Regions from separate parts of the Homo sapiens genome. Here region 1 is linked to region 2. The links are contacts of gene promoters, found by promoter capture Hi-C in blood cells and fetal thymus (Javierre and others, 2016). All regions are on one chromosome and are shown on one strand. Each heading gives the region's core, a stretch centred on a gene start or on the middle of the fragment in contact. The rest is flanking DNA. Distances are from core to core; before and after follow the strand shown.

Region 1 (4,427 bases), core at 40-2,539, 2.4 Mb after region 2:
TCCTAGGAAGACGAGAGGAAGTAAAATGGAATAGAATCATAGAATACTTGGAGCTGGAAGGCTTTTCAGTGAATTACCTAGTTGAGAGATTCTTAAACTGGCATATAGGATAAGCTTCAGGGCGTTAGTGAACATCTTGAAATTAGTGAACATCTTGAAAAGTTAGTTTACATGTGCAGTTGTGCATTTCTCTTAAGTAGAGAGGCCTTAATTTTGGTAACATTTTCAAAAAGGTCCATGACATTTGGAAGGTTTGAGAACCATTTATCTAGTCTAGCCCTTTAACTTTTCCCATGAATTCAAGACGCAAAAATAATAACTTACTTTCCAAAGGTTCATGGCAAGTTAGCAGAGCCCAGGTGTCAGGGCTCCTGATGCAGTGCATTTTCATTGCTAGTCAGGTGGTCCAGTCATGATACGATCTTGTTTGATTGTTTGCTGCCACTTGGAGTCCACCCATTCTTTAGGTCAAGGTCTGAGGAGTAGTCTGTATTTTACTCTGCTCTGAAAATGGGGAAGGGAGTATATCCCTAACTAGAATATAAGTTCCTTGAAAACCAAGGACCTTGTCTGTTGTTCATTGCCATGTTGCTGTGTCTACAATAGTGCCCAGCACGTAGTAGGCATTCAGTAAATGTCTAGAATGAATGTATTATGGAAGGAACTGTGTCTTATTCATCTTTTATCCCTGATTACCTACTTCTGTGATTTGTATAGGTGTTCTTTATATTTCCCTGAATGAATAATTGATGAAAACTCTTGGGAGTTGGCTGGCATCATGAGAATTTGCTTAGTCTGTTCTGTTACCTTAACATTGTAGGCAGCCATGTAGCAGTTAAGCTTCTTTATCCATGTAGTGTGTTTGTTCATACAGTAAATTCTTTACCAGTTCACAAGTCAATAGTGACTATTGTAATAGCTCACCTTAGGACCATGCAACATGAGACTTAGAAGGAGCTTTATGGGTGTATTGATATGTCCCTTTCACTTTACCAACGTAGAAATGAGCCAAAAATAGAGTAGATGATTCACCACTATCATACAGTCAATGTGGCAGTACCAGGAATTTGGTTATTTGGCCCGTGTCATCAGTGCAATCAGGAGAGATTAGGCTGAGAGAATACTGTGGAAGCAGGGACTCAATGTGTCTTCTTCCCTATCTTTTGAGACTCAAGGTTACCTGTCTTCTTCTCTGTTGTGTCCTTGCCCTCCTTTTCCTGACCTTGCTTCACAGAAAACTTCACAGAAAATAAAAATTTCAGCTCTCTTCTGTTTGAACATGGGGATAGGAGCTGGCGGCCAATTTCATATTGTCGTGGGTCATGTTATTGTAGGATTTGACATGTATTTCTAAATTATATTCATTAACTAATAGCTCAGTATATGTTCATGGCAAGATTTGAATTAAAGATGGTGGTTATAAATCTGCCTCAATTTAGCCTCTTGACAATTTTGAATTTTTTCCAAGGGGGTACTGACTTGTCAGATTGGATTAGATCATCTTTGTTTATACTTCATGTGTCTGATAAAGAGTTCCTGATCTGCTATTTTCTTATTTGCTTGTGCTTATTATTATTATTATTATTACCTCAATTCATGGCTTCTTTGTAGAAATCAGCTTAAGCTACTTGCTCATTTTGGGAGAGGTAATTTAGTTAAAATTTAACAATATAATTTGAAAATAATCTAATATATATTGTAAAATGCTGAAGGTCCTACTGTCAACTCTCTGTTTGTGGAAGCTTTCTCTGCCCTTAGGTTACCTTGTAAACAGAGTATAAGGAGTGACCTGCTTGGCATATCAATAAATGAGACTGCCATCGTTAAAAATTAGTAAAGCTTTCCTGCCAGCAGAGGTGTGCTAAAAAGAAAAAATAAATTTGGTAAAGCTTTAAAAACTCAAATTTGTAAATTTTATTTTTCCTTTTTAAGTAAAAAGATAAAAAATTATTATAATAGAAGCTTTAACATTTTCTCACATTACCTAGTGGGTCACTGCATATATGGCTTTGAGTGTACTTTCCTCACTTTGTAGATGATTGACTTCAAACACAAGCTTTGAATATAGTCATTTTTAGGTTTTACTTTGATCTGCATGCGGGTAAACAATGATGACATGAACGGAAGATATCTTCTGTTTTCTAGTTTCTTAAAGTTGCCATTTAATCATATATAATCACATATTGCCTGCTATTATTATTTCACTCTGTCTCTGACATATCTCCCTTATTAGACTTAAATTCCTGGAGGATAGACACCCATGTCTTATATGCCCTTAGCGTAATTGTACATCATAAATACACAGTAATTAATTGCCGACTAAACAAATATTCTCAATTGTGGATATTCTTCACATTAAAACATGTAAACCTCCTCAACTTTATACATGAAAAATAAAGCTGATGTCCTTAATGCCTTAAAATAGTATAAGAAGCAACAAATTTGTATCTAGAATGAGTCAGTTTTCTGTGATGAAAAATCTGTGTATAAACAAAGGGTCAGGGTGGGGTGTGGTGGCTCATGCCTGTAACCCTAGTGCTTTGGGAGGCCAAGACGGAAGGATAACTTGAGGTCAGGAGTTTAAGACCAGTCTGGGCAACATAACGAGACCAGTCTGGGCAACATAACGAGACCTATCTACAGAAGAATAAAAAAATCAGCAGGGTGTGGTAGTGCTTGCTTATAGTCCTACCTACTACGGTGGGTCAGGTGGTAGAATCACTTGAGCCCAGCAGATAGGGCTGTAGTGAGATTTGATGGTGCCACTGCACTCCAGCCTGGGTGACGGAGTAATACCCCATCTCAAAAACAAAACAAAAAAGGCTTAATCTTTCTAACCTACAAAGAGAAACAGATATGTGCAATTCATTAGAAAAACAAGTAGACTATGAAAAGGCAATCCACAAAAGAGAAAATATGGAGAGCCAGTATACCTAACAACAACAACAACAACAAACAAAACACTCAGACTCATTAGCAACTAGGGGAGTACAGGTGAAAGATAGGATGCCATTTTTAGCCATCAAAGTGTCAAGGTTGTAAAAAGATTGATAATATTCAGTTCTGGGAAGGTTTGTAGGGAGAAAGAACACGTATATACTTTGCTATTGGGACTGTGAATTGGGGAGAGTATTTGGTCAGAATCTATTTATGTTTAAAATGCACGTTTTTTGACTCAACAGTCCTACTTTGAGGAATCAATCCTATAGAATTAGAATGCCCAGGGTGTTGATTGTGTATAGATATGAAAGGCTGAAATCAACCTGTGTCTCTAACCAAAGGGGAGTGTTGAATGAATTATACTAGATCTATATACAATGGAACAATAGTGAAATATTACTGAACTGCAGGACTGTACATGATATATTGTTACATGAGAAAAGCAAGTTGAAGAATAATGTATATAATGTGATACTATTCTTTGTTCAATAAGTATAAGAAGAAAATGATTAAAAATGTGGATGTATGTATGTATATAGCACAATATTATATATGTTAAAATATATATACATAATGAGGGAAGATGCACCCAATTGTTAATAATGGTTATCTCTGGTGGTACAGTATTGAAGAGGAAAGAGTCCGGATTGTTAACCCTGTATTCACTTCTGTATTGCTAGATCTTTAAAATTAATATGTTATCATTTTATGGTTTTAAAATTCTAGTAAAAATTTTTTATATAAAAATACACTGATTTTTTTTGTCAATCTTAGCTGCACTTTTTGTTATACCTGTTACTTATTGAGATTCTAGAAATTTTTAGTATAGTTCAACTCTTTTCCTCAACCCTTTGCCTTCTTCCAATTGAATATAATTACTGTGATATCAGGAAAAGCATCCTAAAGTAATGTTTTTATTTACATTTTAATCTAACTACCTACATGTTTATTTTTAGCTGTGTGTGATTCTGCGTGTGTGTGGGGGGGTACTGATTATTTACCAGATAAATCAGAATTTACCTATTCAGAAAAGCAGGTGGACTGAAGAAGAAAAAGACCGGAATTCAAAAACCACCAAATCAGTAGCTGATTTACCTTTTTTCTCTCTGATTTGCCCCCAGCCTTGACTTGAGCCCTGGAAATAAGCATCAGTGCAGACGAGTGCTCTATGAGAAGCTATCTAGTTAAAGCTCAAGGAGCCACAAAGGGATTTCCTGGCAGCACAGTCACCAGAAACACTGAGGGAGAACTCTCTGAACAGAGGAATTGTGACCCCAAGACAGTAGTTTTTAGACGTGACACCAAAAGCACAATCCATAAAAGAACAAATTGATAAATTGGACTTTTTTAAAATTTAAAACTTCTGCTCTATGAAACAGACTTTTAAGAGATGGGAAGGTAAGGTACAGACCAGGAGAAAATATCTGCAAATCACATATCTGACAAAAGACTTGTATCTAGAATATATAATATAAAGAACTCTCAAA
Region 2 (4,218 bases), core at 251-2,750:
TTCACAGACTGCTCTCAGTTCTGAAACAGCAGATATGTATTATCCATACCACTTATTATTTATTTATTTATTTATTTAGAGACCGAGTCTCGTTCTGTCACCCAGGCTGGAGTGCAGTGGCGCCATCTTGGGTCGCTGAAACCTCCGCCTCCCGGGTTCAAGCGATTCTCCTGCCTCAGCCTCCCGAGTAGCTGGGATTAGAGGCATGTGCCATCATGCCAGGCTAATTTTTGTATTTTTAGTAGAGACGTGGTTTCACCATGTTGATCAGGCTGGTCTCGAACTCCTGACCTCGTGATCCACCCGCCTCAGCCTCCCAAAATGCTGGGGATTACAGGCCTGAGCCATGGCGCCAGGCCTAATTTTTGCTTAAAAAAAAAAAAAATCACATTTGTATTCAAGGTGAGAAAGCTTCAGAATTATTAAGGACAAGGATTCTGACAGAAAGTTAAGTTCAGACCTGGTTACAAATTCAGACACCTTAATAAAGTAGGAGATAGTCTTCAGTATCTGAACAATAAATAGCTTTAAATGCAGGGCTTTTTGAGTAGAGGAGTGATCACTTGAATCTGGAGAGAGGGCGAGAAATGGGGAGGGATTGCTAACGGGCATTGGGGTTCCTTTTGGAGTGGTGAAACTTCTTGGAATCAGAGGTGACAGCTGCACACGATTGTGAATGTACTAAGTGACAGTGGATTGTACACTTTTTAAAAAATGGTTAATTTTATATGTGAATTTAACCTCAATAATTACTTTTTTTAAAAAAGAAAAAAAATAGAGGCTTTTGTGGCAGGGATGGACTTTGCTTGGTGAAGGCCCCTACTGTAACGGTGCCCAGACATCCACAGCGAGGTCAGTGAGGAGCACTCCCACCTCACACAAAGCCATATGAAAACTTAACAGATTTCCCTCAGCTAAATCCCCGTTTTCAACAACCGCCAATTAGCCAACATTTAACAACATACTGAACTCATTTCTGTATGGGAAAACAGCGAAATATTCATGAAAACATTTAGAAAGCAGCATCACCGACCACCTAGAAATCCCCTGCGCGCAATAGAGAACACCAGGGTGGAAATGGTAGAAGCCATTTTTGGTTAAGGTTTTTGTCCTGGGTGGAGGGTATTCGTGAGGATTCAGTCAGCCTCAAACATTACATTTAAACATAGGTGCCTAGCTACGATGATACATTTGCCAGTAGGGCAGCGTTGCACGGTGAAAGGCAAAAACCCCTCTAAGCCTCCTCCTGTGGCGACAAAGCTCTCGGCCAACGCTCACCGCCATACACATCCGCGGGAACGCTTCCTCCACCAGCCGAAGGCGGGGCCTCTGAGGGCACTCCCGCCACACAGCGCGAATTGAGCCTCGGGGCTTCCTGGGAATTGTAGTTTTAGTCACGGACACATCTTTTTTATTCGGGCCAGTATGCAATGAATCAGAAAACTACAACTCCCAAAGTGCCCCGGGGCGGCGAGGGGCCGCAACGGTGACGACTGTGGCAGAGAAGGCCCGGAGGGGCTCTGCGTTCTGTAGTGGCGCTGCTTGGGCCCTTGGCGGATTGTAAGCTGCTGGTTTTGCGGCTGGGAAGAGCGGCGAGAGGGTTCGGCATTTTTCGTCGGGATCCCCGCAAGGATGAGTGCTGCCAGAGAGTCTCACCCGCATGGGGTGAAGCGTTCAGCCTCCCCAGACGACGATGTAAATAATAATGGCGGAGTGGCTGAGGGTTGAGGCCTACTAAAGCCTGGAGTAGGCCGGGAAGGGTGGTTGGAGGAGGACGCGCCTGAGGTGGCCTGCAGCGGGAGAGCCCAGGGAAGAAACCAGAAGAATGAGTGGGAAATGCCTCCCTTAATCTTTATGAGGGTCAGAAGGTTTGAAGAGGCCCACACGCTGAGAGCCGGAGACCTGCGTAGGAAGGGGGATTGAGGAAGGAAATTCTGAGAGGGTCGAGGAGTGAAAGAGCTTAGTCAAGGGATTTCGTACGTGCGTTTTGGGGGGCCGATGAGAGTGCTTTCTCGGGCCTTTGTACTCAGTATAGAGACGGCAAGACTCTCCCTGTTTTGGGTTCTAAATGTTCCCGTGACAATGTCGAAATGTTCGTGCACGTTTGTACAGATTTTTCCTGCCTGGATGATTTTTACAATGTGCTGTTGAGAGTTAACTTTAGCTGCACTAGTAAGGGTAAACCGAGAACAGTATTGAGCCGAAAATTGTGCCACGGGTGTAATTTGGTACTGGCTCTGGTGGTGAGGTCTAAGACGTTGAGACCTAGAAGCCCATTTTGATGTCGGATATTAATACCTCGTTCTTCTTACCTCGTCTCCCCATCAAATGCCGTTCCCTTCCTCAGCCCTCACCTCATAGGTTTTAATAGCAAACGGTTTATCCCTTAAAGTAACCCGTTAAATATTTACTGCACTGCCGGGTGTTGGGAATTCGGAGAGAAATATGATGCTTATTTTAGGCCTTTTTGTATATTTGTCCTAGCTCCTAGCCCAGTGTCATGGAAACGGTAGGTAACCAGTAAACGTAAAACTAGGTCCTTCATACAATGGATAAGTGTCTTGGCAACGTTGATGGGGAAAATTGTTGGAGAGAGCGCGGAGAGGTCATCTTTAAGGAAGATGAAGGGATATCTAGGTTTTTTTTCGGTTTTGTTTAAAGTACTGTCAATTTCTGAATACATAGAGCTTTAAATTTTTCGATAGTGCATTTCAACGCTCTTCATAAAATTTTAAAAGCCCACTGAATACTACTTTGTAGCAAATGAGATAATGTTAAGACCTACCCCTCTGATGGGAGGTGGGGCGAGGACCGGAATATTAAGGATCTTTAAAGGAATCGACTTCAGCTCTGCAGAAAGATTAGCAATCAGTAAAGATTTGGGGATGAATGGGCACCTAGAGAAGTTTATTCTTGCTCTCTGTTATTTCTGCTACTGGATTTTAGATCTTGTTAATATGGTAATTCAGGTTTTGTCAGGAATTGATCCACACTTTTGAGTAACCTGGCTGCCACTTAAAAAGCTGTTACATTGTTTTCCTCCTGATCTTTAAATGTGACTTGATTGCTAGGATATCAGACACCTGTTTGGAAATATCTTTTAGCGTGACAGAAAACTCCAGGTGATATGAAATTTAACAAAGTTAAAGGGATTAAGTCATTAAGTTTACAGCTTCGGAAGAGGTCGGTTTAAACTAGACGACCTTGAAGACCTTTCCCAATCATATAAGCGTATCTTTAAGTACCTGGGTTTTGTTTTTGTTTTGAGACAGGTGAGACAGGGTCTCTGTCGCCCAGGCTGGAGTGCAGTGGCACGATCGATCAGTGCTCCCTGCAGCCTCCACCTCCCTGGCTCAGGTGATCCTCCTGCTTCAACCCCCTCTTCCCCCACCACCACTACAGTAGCTCGGACTACAGGTGTGCACCATTACACCCGACTAATTTTTTGTATTTTTAGTAGAGACCAGATTTTGCCACATTGCCCAGGCTGGTCTCCAACTACTAGACCCAAGCGATCTGCCCACCTCGGCCTCCCAAAGTGCTGGAATTACAGGTGTGAGCCACCTCGCCCAGCCAGTACTTAAAAAAAAAATTTTTTTAACCATAAGTAATGCATTCATTAAAATACCTCCAAGCTGTTGCAGAAAAAAAAAAAAAAACTAGCAGGCCGGGCGCGGTGGCTCACTCCTGTAATCCCAACACTTTGGGAGGCCAAGGCAGGCGGATCACGAGGTCAGGAGATCCAAACCATCCTGGCTAACACAGTGAAACCCCGCCTCTACTAAAAAAATACAAAAAAATTAACCGGGCGTGGTAGCGGGCGCCTGTAGTCCCAGCTACTAGGGAGGCTGAGGCAGGAGAATGGCGTGAACCCGGGAGGCGGAGCTTGCAGTGAGCCAAGATGGCGCCACTGCACTCCAGCCTGGGCGACAGAGCGAGACTCTGTTTAAAAAAAAAAAAAAAAAAATCTAGTTATAATATATAGTTGGGAAACAGTTTCTAATGAGCATCCACGGTATGTGAGAGATCATTGAAGTTTTCTTATGCCCATTGACCTCACATCTAATTGAGGTAACAAAACATTTTTTTACTATTAAAAGTAGATACTAAATCACAATACAACTCTAGAAAAACGCTAACAATGTAGGAGTAAATTCTAAGAGTCACCAGGTTATGTATTGAGGAGGTAAATTGATTGCAGTTCTGTAGTAAAGGGTA

The links. Contacts are between HindIII fragments. The CHiCAGO score rates a contact against its expected background, and 5 or more counts as called.
Region 1: a fragment that was not itself captured here is called in contact with the fragment with the promoter of C11orf58 in region 2 in 4 of 17 cell types (non-activated CD4 T cells, total CD8 T cells, fetal thymus and 1 more); the score reaches 10.7 in non-activated CD4 T cells.

The regions. Positions count from the first base shown.
Region 1 is chr11:19,120,843-19,125,269 of GRCh38, forward strand. All of the region lies in intron 1 of ZDHHC13 (zDHHC palmitoyltransferase 13), which reads left to right. Among named protein-coding and RNA genes, the nearest start is that of ZDHHC13, 5.9 kb to the left of the region's middle. The HindIII fragment of the contact is 902 bases long and covers 839-1,740 here.
Region 2 is chr11:16,737,147-16,741,364 of GRCh38, forward strand. It overlaps C11orf58 (chromosome 11 open reading frame 58), which reads left to right and starts at 1,501. Exons shown (of 5, transcript NM_014267.6): 1 at 1,501-1,695. The coding sequence starts at 1,633. It also overlaps a transcript of SOX6 not described here. RefSeq lists an enhancer at 1,375-2,004. The HindIII fragment of the contact is 4,072 bases long and covers 410-4,218 here.